2 separate regions of the Homo sapiens genome follow, and region 2 is linked to region 1. Evidence: promoter capture Hi-C in human tissues and cell types (Jung and others, 2019). All regions are on one chromosome and are shown on one strand. Each heading gives the region's core, a stretch centred on a gene start or on the middle of the fragment in contact. The rest is flanking DNA. Distances are from core to core; before and after follow the strand shown.

Region 1 (5,333 bases), core at 936-3,435:
AGCACTCACAGAGGAAAGCTCCAGGTACCCAGCTCAGTTCAATTACTAGCTGTGTGAACCTTGGCAATTTATTCAGCTTCTCTGTGTCTTGAATGCATCATCTATACATGGGGATAAAAGCCATCTCTACTCCATAAAACTGCTAATGAGGATTCAATGAGGTAATGCATATGGAGTGCCTACAACAGTGCCTGGCACACATTCAATAAATATTAGCTATTATGATTATATTTACAGCCAAGTCCAGGACCCTCTCCTCTCAGTCCTGTTCTGCATCTCTATTCCTCCCATGCTGGAGTATTCATTCTCTCCTGACCCACGCTTTCTTTCATTTCCACCTCTTACCCATCAGTTCTGAAAATGATGTCAAGGTCTCTTCAGTGCCAACTCTGCTCTGCCCTCCTTTTTTTTTTTTTTTGCATTTGTCATTAGATCCAAACTGCTTTCACAAGGTTCAGCTAATTCCCTGACTAACCTGTGCCTGGACTAAAGCTTTTATAACAATGTGATTCTAAAAAAGTTCCCACAGAAACTAGAGGGTAACATTACAAATTTACTTGGCCTTAATCCAGAACTATTTTAACACCATCTTTTATCACATAACTTACTCCATTTCAAGTTTTTTTTTAAGTGTGGCCTCCTTCACATCTTGTGCTTATACTATTTTAAAGAGAAAAACAATTTAAGGTCTTATAAAACAATTTTGTTTGCCTTGAAATTTATTTAGAAATTTTCGAAATTTTGTGTATATGTTCTCTGAGCTTTATTCTGAGTCCAGAGGAAAAGAAAATATCCTCTTTCCTGGATGGGCTGTGCCATCTCATCTTGGGCTGTGAAGTCTGCCCTACCCCATGCCACCAGTCTCAGGGGAAGGAAGCTGCCAGAGAACTTGGCTAAAAAAGGGGGATGGGGAGTAAAAGATCCAAACGATTAAATTTCCAGCTCTCAAAATAACCCCTGACTACTCCTGTCACCTCCAAATCAGGGCTTGCACACTTCTTCATGCTGGCAAAGTGCCACCCCTCTGGCCTGATCCCAGGGGGCCCTGATGAGCTATGGACGCCCCTTTATCTCTGCAAGACAGCCACGTAGAGAAGCTGGGGAGCTCACTGAATTAAGGGTGGACATGCAAGATGTATTTTCTCTTTTCTTATACTCTTACCATTCTTCTCCTTAATCTCTCTTCTGTCTTCCCCTCCATCTGTCTCCAGGCTCCTGAAAGGCCCCGTGATAGTGTTTTCTAAAACTTAGTAATTTGAGTACCACTATCACGATGTTCCTCTCCCCTGCTCTGCCTACCCCTCCGCCCCACCATATCCAAATTCCACCTGTTCTATTTGATAGCTTACTTTTTCACTTAAAAATGCAAAATCTAGCTCTTGATGTATATCACTGATTTAAATTTAAAATCAGTTTCCTTGCCATAAATAGAAAGCTCCCTGATAAATGTAATGCAAATAAAAACATATAGTAGTGGAATTTTAGTTGGATATGGCTGCTTGCTGCAGGCCTGTGCCTGAAACCTGCTGTTAGGTTAAGAAATGCTGGAGAAGTGTTAAAAACATATCAGCATCGCAGTGAGACTTGATCTTTGAAAGAGAGACACAGAAGGACAACCGAAAAGAGAGCAGCTTTCTCAAGAGGTAAATAAGTTTGTTGAAATCTGATAGGCTTCATCCCATTTCCTTCAACAACTGAGTACACTATTTGCTAACTGTACTAAAAAACGTTTTGCACATTTTTTCTTATTATTTGCTCACAGCTTTTGACTACCAGAGAATGTTTCGGATACAGGACTAATTCCTGTGGATGACAGAATGCGACCGTTGAATGGGACATTGGGTGTCATCTGGTCCAAATCTTGACCCCTTTTCATTTTCCCCGAAAGAAAGACTTGCGGCTCGGAACCGAGGGCGGCATGCCCAAGGTCACAGAAAGGGTGGTCTAATGTTTTGGTTCCTGCAGCCCAGAGAACAAGCTATCCCATCCCACAGGAGCCTTGGCGAAAAGCTCCCCGGCCGGCGCAAGGCCAGACTTCTCGCCTCCACTGTGTTGATTGCGGTTGCCAGGGCAGCGGCGCATTGCTCCCCGCCTCGTCCTGGTGACGTCACAGAGCAATGTCCAATGGGAAAGCAGCTCGGTGTCACGCACCTCCTATCCCGGCGGGCACCGCCTGCGCCGCGGCGAGTGAGGCGTCGTCCGTACTGGAGGCTAGCTCTTGTCGCGGCCGCGGCGAGTTAACATCGTTTTTCCAATCTGTCCGCGGCTGCCGCCACCCAAGACAGAGCCAGAATGTTCAGGATGCTGAACAGCAGTTTTGAGGATGACCCCTTCTTCTCGTGAGTTACGGGAGCCAGGAGTCCGGGGTCGCGCGGGAATTAAGGTATCGAGGGGAGCTATTTTAAGGGAAAAGAGCGAGTTTTAGAGGGCGAGAGAGAATTCGGAGTAACTCTGGAGGCGGTTTGAAGGAGACGAGGATTTGGAGGCCTGGGAGGGAAGAGAGAGGAGGATTTAGGGGTGTGTGAGACAGGGAAGAGACGGATTTGGGCGCATGAGGTGGAGAGAGGAGGGTTTGGACGCGTGAGGTAGGCGGAGGGAAGTTTGGGGGCGTGAGGTGTGGGGAGGAGAGTTAAGGCTGGGAGTGGGGGGAGAAGAGTTGAGGCCGGGAGGTGGGGGGAGGAGAATTGAGGGCATGAGGTGGGGAGAAGAGGTTGAGGGCGTGAGGTGAGGGAAGGGTTTGGGAGCATGAGGTGGGAGGGAGGAGGGTTGAGGGCGTGAGGTGAGGGGAAGGGTTGAGGGTGTGAGGTGAGGGGAAGGGTTGAGGGCGTGAGGTGAGGGGAAGGGTTGAGGGCGTGAGGTGAGGGGAAGGGTTGAGGGCGTGAGGTGGGGGAAGGGTTTGAAAGCGTGAGGTGGGGGGAGGAGGGTTGAGGCTGTGAGGTGGGGGGAGGGTTTGGGAGCGTGGGGTGGGAGGAGGAGGGTTTGGGGGAGTAAGGTGGAGGGGGGAGGGTTGAGGGTGTGAGATGGACGAAGGAGGATTTGGGGGTGTGAGGCGTTTGGAGGAGGGTTGAGGGCGTGAGGTGGGGGGAGGGTTTGGGAGCATGAGGTGTGGGGGAGAGTTGAAGGTGTGAGGTGTAGGAGGAGGGTTGAGGACGTGAGGTGGGAGGAGGATTTGGGAGCATGAGGTGTGGGGGAGGGTTGAGGGTGTGAGGTGAGGGGAAGGAGGGTTTTGGACCGCGAGGTGGGGGGAGGAGGGTTGAGGGCGTGAGGTGGGGGGACGGTTTGGGAGCATGAGGTGCAGGGGAGAGTTAAGAGCTTGAAGTGCAGGGACGAGGGTTGAGGGCGTGAGTTGGTGGGGAGGGTTTGGGAGTATGAAGTGCAGGGGAGGATTGAGGGCATGAGTTGGTGGGGATGGTTTGGGAGCGTGAGGTGGCGGTAAGAGGGTTGAGGGTGTGAGGTGGATGGAGGAGGATTTAGGGGCTGAGGAGGATTTGGGGGCATGAGGTGTGGGAGGAGGGTTGGGGAGAAGGGTTGAGGGCGTGAGTTGGTGGGAAGGGCTTGAGAGCATGATGTGGGAGGAGGGTTGAGGGCGTGAGGTAGGGGGAAGAGGTTTGAGGGTGAGAGGTAGTGGGACGAGGGAGGGTTGGGGCGTGAGGTGGAGGGAGGAGGGTTTGGGGGCATGAGGTGTGGGGAAGAGGGTTTAGGGGCATGAGGTGTGGGGGTAGGAGGGTTGAGGGTGTGAGGTGGACAGAGGAGAGTTGATGGCGTGCAGTGGGGGGAGGAGGGTTTGGGGGCGTGAGGTCGCAGGAGGATGGTTGAGGACGTGAGGTAGAGAGTTGAGGGCCCCAGGTAGGGGGAGGAGGATTTGGCTGCATGAGATGGAAAGAAGGCCCTTCCTCACACTCCCGGGGTGCCTGCTGCTTTCCATTTGGCCGGACTTTGGGTGCCCGTCATGGCTTCCTGTGTGCAGAGTTGGCCTTTGCAGCTTCAAGGGCTTTGCAGGTGACATAACTACCATCTCGGTGAAACTTATGGTGAGAATTATGTTCACATAATTGCAAATGGGAGCAGGGAATATTTTATAGCTCCTCTTTAAATTCCAAATAGGAACAGGTAATATTTTATAGCATGACAGTTCATTGAAAAGGGGAAGTTTTTAAAACAGCATTTTCCATGTGAGTGGGGAATGTGTCAATGAGAGCACGACAAAGTTGGAGAGTTGTGCTTTCTCTTCGAAGTTGTTGGAAGTTGCCATGCCAATTGCGCTGTTTTCTTTGCTCGCTTTGTTACAGAGCTAACCTTGTTTGTGAAGGGACTCCGCTTTCTGTCAAAACTAGAAATAGGACAGGGAAGCTGATGGGGCGGGGCGGGGGGAGGGGGGCGGGAGGAGGGCGGCGGGGGGGGGGGGGTGTGTATTTAACACCTCAGGTAAGCAAGTGCCATTCGTTGCCTTTGAAGGTTCCCAGTGAAGTAATGTGATGCCCTAGAAAGAAGGCATCCAGAAATTGGTTTCACTATTATTTATTTTTGAGTTGTGGGATTTTTTTTCCTTAATTCTAACTTTGGCCATTGTTACAAACACATTGACATAGTCTAGTTGTATCCCTAAGAGGGGAAATTTGTAATACTTTTTAGCCTAAGTGTTTTTTGCCAGTTTGAATTTTGATTTCAAGTCTAGTTTATTTTGATCCCTTAAATTTTCTAGGTTTGCAATTTGGAGAGCATTTTTTAAAAAGGTCTTAAAATAAGAGTTTATTGCACATATTTTTCAAACAATATCTGTGGGGGGTGTGTTGTGCGTCTGTGTTTGTTTGTTTGAGACAGGGTCTCACTGTGTTGCCCAGGCTAGAGTGCAGTGGGTTGCTCTCGGCTCACTGCAGCCTCTGCCTCCCAGGCTCAAGCGATCCTCCTGCCTCAGCTTCACAAGTAGCTGGGTCCACAGGAGGGAGCCACCACACCCTGCTAATTTTTTTTGTAGAGAGGAGGTTTCGCCGTGTTACCCAGACTGGTCTCAAACTCTTGAGCTTAAGTGATCTGCCTCCCTCGGCCTCCCAAAATGCTGGGATTACAGGCATGCGCCACTGCACCTAGCCAATGTTGTTGTTTAAATAAATGATTGACTTAAATATGTTAGTACTAATTTAAAGCAAAATAACATTAATAAAAAGATAATGAACAGTGGGAAATGAAATGGTTAATATAGAAAAATAAAATGATTAAAATTTTTTTCTGAAGATTATTTATTAAGGCATACATGAACTCAGGCAAATTTATTATGCCATTTTAGTTAACGTGTTTAGGAGCTGTTGGGATATGGACAGTGTTATTTTAACAGG
Region 2 (5,426 bases), core at 316-2,815, 220 kb after region 1:
AAAAATTATGGCCATCCATTGTGTGCCAAGTGCTTAGTTAAATGGAAAAGGTATTACATTTATTGGTGGAAGACATGAAGAGAAAATGTGTTCTGATTGATGGCAATGTTAGGCCAAAAAGCATTCAGCTACATGAAGACTTCAGCAAGGGATCCCCTAAAACTAGTGACATCAAGCCATTTACTGCAAGTAAGGGATGGTTAAACGGATTCAGGAGTACAGAAGGTCAATGGTAGCTTATTGCTGTCACAATGACTACATCATTCACCTCACTTCATCTCATCATGTAGGCAGTGTATCATCTTGCATCAACATAAGAAAATATGTACAATACAATATTTGGGAGAGAGGCCACATTCACATAACTCTTTTTACAGTGTATCATTACAGTTGTTCTATGTTATTATTAGTTATTATTGTTAATCTCTTACTATGTTTAATATATAAATTAAACTTTATTATAGGTATGTATGTATAGGAAAAAAAACATAGTTTACATAGGAGTTCGGTACACTCCATGGTTTCAGGCATCTACCTGGGGAGTCTTGGAAAGTGTTCCCCCAGGATAAGGCGGGGGCTAGTGTACAATAAAAAGCAGTATTTATTAAGCACATAAACATTCTTTCAGATCTATTATTCATTTATTTAAATTTGTAAACATTTATAGGGTACAGGTGCAATTCTGTTACATGCATAGATCATGCAGTGGTCAAGTCAGGGCTTTTAAGGGTATTCATCACCCAAATAATGTACATTGTACCCATTAAGTAATTTCTCAGTACAGAATTTCTCACATTCACCCTCCCAACCCTTCACCCTTCTGAGTCTCTACCATCTATCATTCCACTCTCTATGGCCATGTGTTCACATTTTTTAGCAGTCACTTAGGAGTGAGAACATGAACTCCCTAGACCTCTCAGTGGACACTTTCCTGCTATCTTGGCCACTAGTTTTGCCAGTTAGGCTCTAAAATATAAGGACAGCCTTAGACTCCTAGAGTACATATTTTTCTTTTAAAATTGGTACTTCATTTACATAATAATACAAAAACTTTTCATTCCTGTGATTACATAAGTCAGCATAAACTATTTTTCATGAGTCACTATATGGAAGTAAACCAACGTCTAATCCCATGATCCAAATCAACGCAGTTATTTTCACCAGACTTCAAAGGCTGTCTTTGCACATCTTCTATGTAGAGTTGGATGAAGCTAATATAGAAGTTGAGAGAGTCAGAATCTCTTTCTAAGGCCTTTGTATATGATGTTGTTTTTGCCTGAAATGCCCTTACTCTGCCCCTCCAACCCCCACTCCCAGTCTTCTTCATTCTTCAAGATCAAGCTCATTTTTCACTGCTTCTGGGCTCCCAAGCAGAACCAGACACTCCTCTCTTGTCCCATACTAGAAACCTGCACTGCTGGTGGGGAGAGGTGGGGGTGGGGGTAGACCGGGGAGACAAAAGAAGGCATTGAAGGGGTTTACATCTTGGCTTCCAATATGAAGGATGAAGATAAAGAGAATGTTTTGGCTCACACAGCACTCAGGAGTTGTAGGAAGTAAATGCACATGAAGACTGAATCCAGAACTTGGATTTTTAGGAGTTACCCTATTCTCTTTTCTGTCTGTGTGGCTAACTTTGCTCCAGAGGCTGCAACCACCCCCACACCTGTGAAACCAGGCTGGTCAGTCTAGTGACCTTGTGTCCAAGATGATAAAGCCTATACTTACACCCCAAATTGCTTTCACTTTCCCATCACTTGATAATTATAAAATAAGTGCAATTTGTTTGGCTAATAATAGGTCAACACAGTTAGAATGAGCAAGTTCATTGTGGACAGGAACAGGTTTTTCCACAGCAGTAAGCTTCCTTTGTTACACCACTAGGTGGTGTAACGTGCTCCTGATTTAAGGGATTCACTTATTAAGCAGTTTTCAAGCTGGCCCTGTTCTAGATGTTTGAGATACAAAGATGCACAAGACTCTTAGGAGGTCAAAGTGTGGTGTATATAGTTTCAGATTTACAGAAAAGTTGTAAGGCTAGTAAAAAGAGTTCCCACATACCTCTACCCAGACACCTGAAATGGCAACATTTTACCATGTTTGTTTTATTCTCTCTCCATATACATATATATCTAATATATGTACATGTCCTTTGACTTCTAAATATCTCAGTATGTGTTTTCTAAAAACAAGTTCCTCCTCCTCCTCCTCCTCTTCTTCTTCTTCGTCTTCGTCTTCGTCGTCTTCGTCTTCGTCTTTTCTGAATTTTGCTCTTGTTGCCCAGGCTGGGGTGCAATGGCTTGATCTCAGCTCACGGCAACCTCCGCCTCCTGGTTTGAAGCGATTCTCCTGCCTCAGCCTCCCGAGTAGCTGGGATTACAGCTATGCGCCTCCACACCCGGCTAATTTTGTATTTTTGGTAGAGATGGGGTTTCTCCATGTTGGTCAGGCTGGTCTTGAACTGACCTCAGGTGATCCATCCGCCCTCCTTGGCCTCCCAAAGTGCTGGGATTACAGGAGTGAGCCACCACGCCCGGCCACAGGTACCTTCTTTTATAACCACAGTCCAGTAGTCAAAATCAGAAAATAAATGCTGACAGAATACAAATTACTTACAGAACTTAGATTTTGTCAACTGTCCCAATAATGTTCCCTATAGCCAAAGAAATCCTGGATCATGTGTTGCATTCAGCTGTTATGTCTCTGGAGTCTTCTTTAATCAGGGCAGTTCCTTAGTCTTTTATGACACTGAGAAATCAGGCCAGTTATTTTGTATAATATCCTTCAATTTGGGTTTGTTTGATGTTTCCTTATGCTGAGATTTAGGTATGATGAGCTTTTGTTAGGTAAATCACAGAGTTTTGTGTTTTCAGTTTCAGTGCATATCTGGGGGCACATAATGTCACTTTGTTCCAATACTGGTAGTATTAACTATGATCACTTGGTTCACGTATGTGGGCCAGGCTTCTGCACTATTTTTTCCTTTGTCATTAATAAATCTCTGGTGAGGAGCTACTTTGAGATTATGCATATATCCTTTACACTTCAAACTTTTATCCACTAATTTTAGTAACTACTGATTCTTGCCTGGATCAGATATTATGATGATGCCTAGCAAACAGTGGTTTTATATTTCCATCATTCCTTCTACATGTATTGATTGGCTTTCTATTACAAGGAAGAGCATTCCTTTCTCTTCTGTTTGTTTAATATTTATCCCAGGTCTAAGGGAAGAATGTACACTATCTTCACTGCCATTTAACATTGAACTGGAGATACTCACTACTGCAGTTAGTAAAGAGAAATCAATTGAAGGCAGGAGAACTAGAAAAGAGTGAGTAAAACTCTTTGTCTTTGCAGATGGTATGACAGTACACCTGGAATATCACAGAAAATTAACAGCAAAACTAAGTCAAACTAGAGAAGAATTCAATAAGTTGGCAGGACATAAACTTAACATACATAAATCAACAGCCTTCACATACATAATCAGTAACATGACATAAAGGTAGAGAAAACTACATTTACAAAAGCAACAAAGAATAATAAATTTAACAAGAAATTTGTAAAATATATATGAAGAAAACTTTAAAACACTCTCAAAAGACATGAAATAGTTTGAAAAACTGGAACACCACTTTTTTTTTTTGTATGTGATGACTTAACATTAAAAACTAAAGTCTCCTTAAGTTAATTTTCAAAGTTCATTAAAAAAATACCAGTTTTCTTATGGAGCTAGGCAAGCTGATACTAATTTCAGGTGGAAAAATATGGAAGAATATCCAGGAAAACAAAAATAAAAGCTATGAAAGGGGACTACATCTACCAGTCACTAAAACATATTCTAAGGCCTCTAAAATAAAAACAGTGGTCCTTGTGCATGACAAGAAAGAGCAGTACAACCGAAAAGAAAGTCCAGAAGTAAACCCAAATACATATGGGAATTTAGTATGCAATAAAGGTGGCATCTCAAATCACTTGGACAAAGATGGACTTAACAATTGGTTAGCCATTTAGAAAAAGATAAAAAGTTTGATCCATACCTCATACTAGGCAAAAGAATAAACTCCAAATGGGTCAGGAATCTAAATCTAAATAATGAAACCATACAAGTACTAGAAAAAAAAATGGGTGAATTCTTCTTTAACCTGGGTACAAGGAAAGGATTTCTAATTATGTTTCAAAATCCAGATGCAATAAAAGAAAAAATTGATAAATTTGACTATATTCTAAAAAAAACCCTTTTCATGACAAAACAAATAAGCCAAAAACTTCATAAAGACAAAAGACAACTGTGAAACTGGGAGAAAAAGGGTAATACCCCATTAATGTACTGTTAAAATTGAGACGAAAGACTTCTTTTGTGCTTAGGATATGAAAAGCTGCAATGAACATCTTTCCTTTCTCAATAATGAGAAAAACTCAGATGAACTACAAAGTCACAACCTTAACTGAAACCATCAGACACAGCTGGGTTGCAAGGTAACCAGGTAGCCTGAACTCCTGGGAAGGGCAAGCCCCCAAGGAGAAGTTCTCAGGCATGCACAGGGGAGTTGGCACTGACTAAAAAGCTCTTTCCTGTGTCCTTCTCTGGATGCTCAGTTTGGTGGGTACATTACCTTTTTACCTTTTTTTTTTCTGTAGGTTTCACATTTCTATAATAATTTTTTGAAGCCCTGAGAATTAAAGCAAGTTTCCACACTCCTAGAACCAGTTTTAAACCCATTCAATTAATCAACTGCCTCAGTAAAACTTGTTTTGAAAAACCCCTCCTTTCTCAAAGTCAGCCAATGACAGGTTCACTCCAATAAATTCAGTGGAGAATTAATAACAGTCTTACCAGAATATCTACTCTTCTACAGGTGATGGCAAACCCTTTTGCCTCTGAAATGCACCTATTCCTGAACTCTGTATTCCCCAAAGCTCCATAGAGCATCAGCAGCCAGCTCTGCTTGGGGAGACTGTGCCGACCCAGCATAGCTTTTCCTTATTAGAGTACACAGTAAATCCAGTTTCGTTGCTTTTTTTTATTTTTATTTTTTTTGAGGCAGGGTCTTGCTATGTCACACAGGCTGGAGTGCAGTGGTGCAATCACGGCTGACTGCAGCTTCTATTTCCTGGGCTCAAGTGATTCTCCCACCTCAGCTGGGGCTACAGGCGCATGTCACCACACCTGGCTAAGTTTTGTATTTTTGGAGAGATGAGGTTTCGCCATGTTGCCCAGGCTGGTCTCCAATTCCTGAGTATAAGCAATATCCCCACCTCAGCCTCCCAGAGTGTTGGGTTTCCAGGTGTGAACCACGGTGCCTGGCCCAGTTTTGTTTCTTTTAGTTCAAATATTGATGGTTGACTCATAATTCCTTGACAAACCAAAGCTCCAAACTAACTAAAAAGATCATTTTGATTGTTGTGCGGGCAACATATCA

The links. Contacts are between HindIII fragments. The study calls those that stand out against the background at their distance.
Region 2: a fragment that was not itself captured here is called in contact with the fragment with the promoter of MLF1 in region 1 in 1 of the 25 tissues and cell types used here (hippocampus).

The regions. Positions count from the first base shown.
Region 1 is chr3:158,569,009-158,574,341 of GRCh38, forward strand. MLF1 (myeloid leukemia factor 1) reads left to right here and starts at 2,186. Exons shown (of 8, transcript NM_001369783.1): 1 at 2,186-2,339. The coding sequence starts at 2,293. MLF1-DT (MLF1 divergent transcript) reads right to left here and starts at 2,058. Exons shown (of 5, transcript NR_104147.1): 1 at 1,163-2,058. The HindIII fragment of the contact is 8,231 bases long and covers 1-5,333 here.
Region 2 is chr3:158,793,276-158,798,701 of GRCh38, forward strand. No RefSeq gene overlaps it. Among named protein-coding and RNA genes, the nearest start is that of MFSD1, 6.1 kb to the right of the region's middle. The HindIII fragment of the contact is 4,544 bases long and covers 1-3,837 here.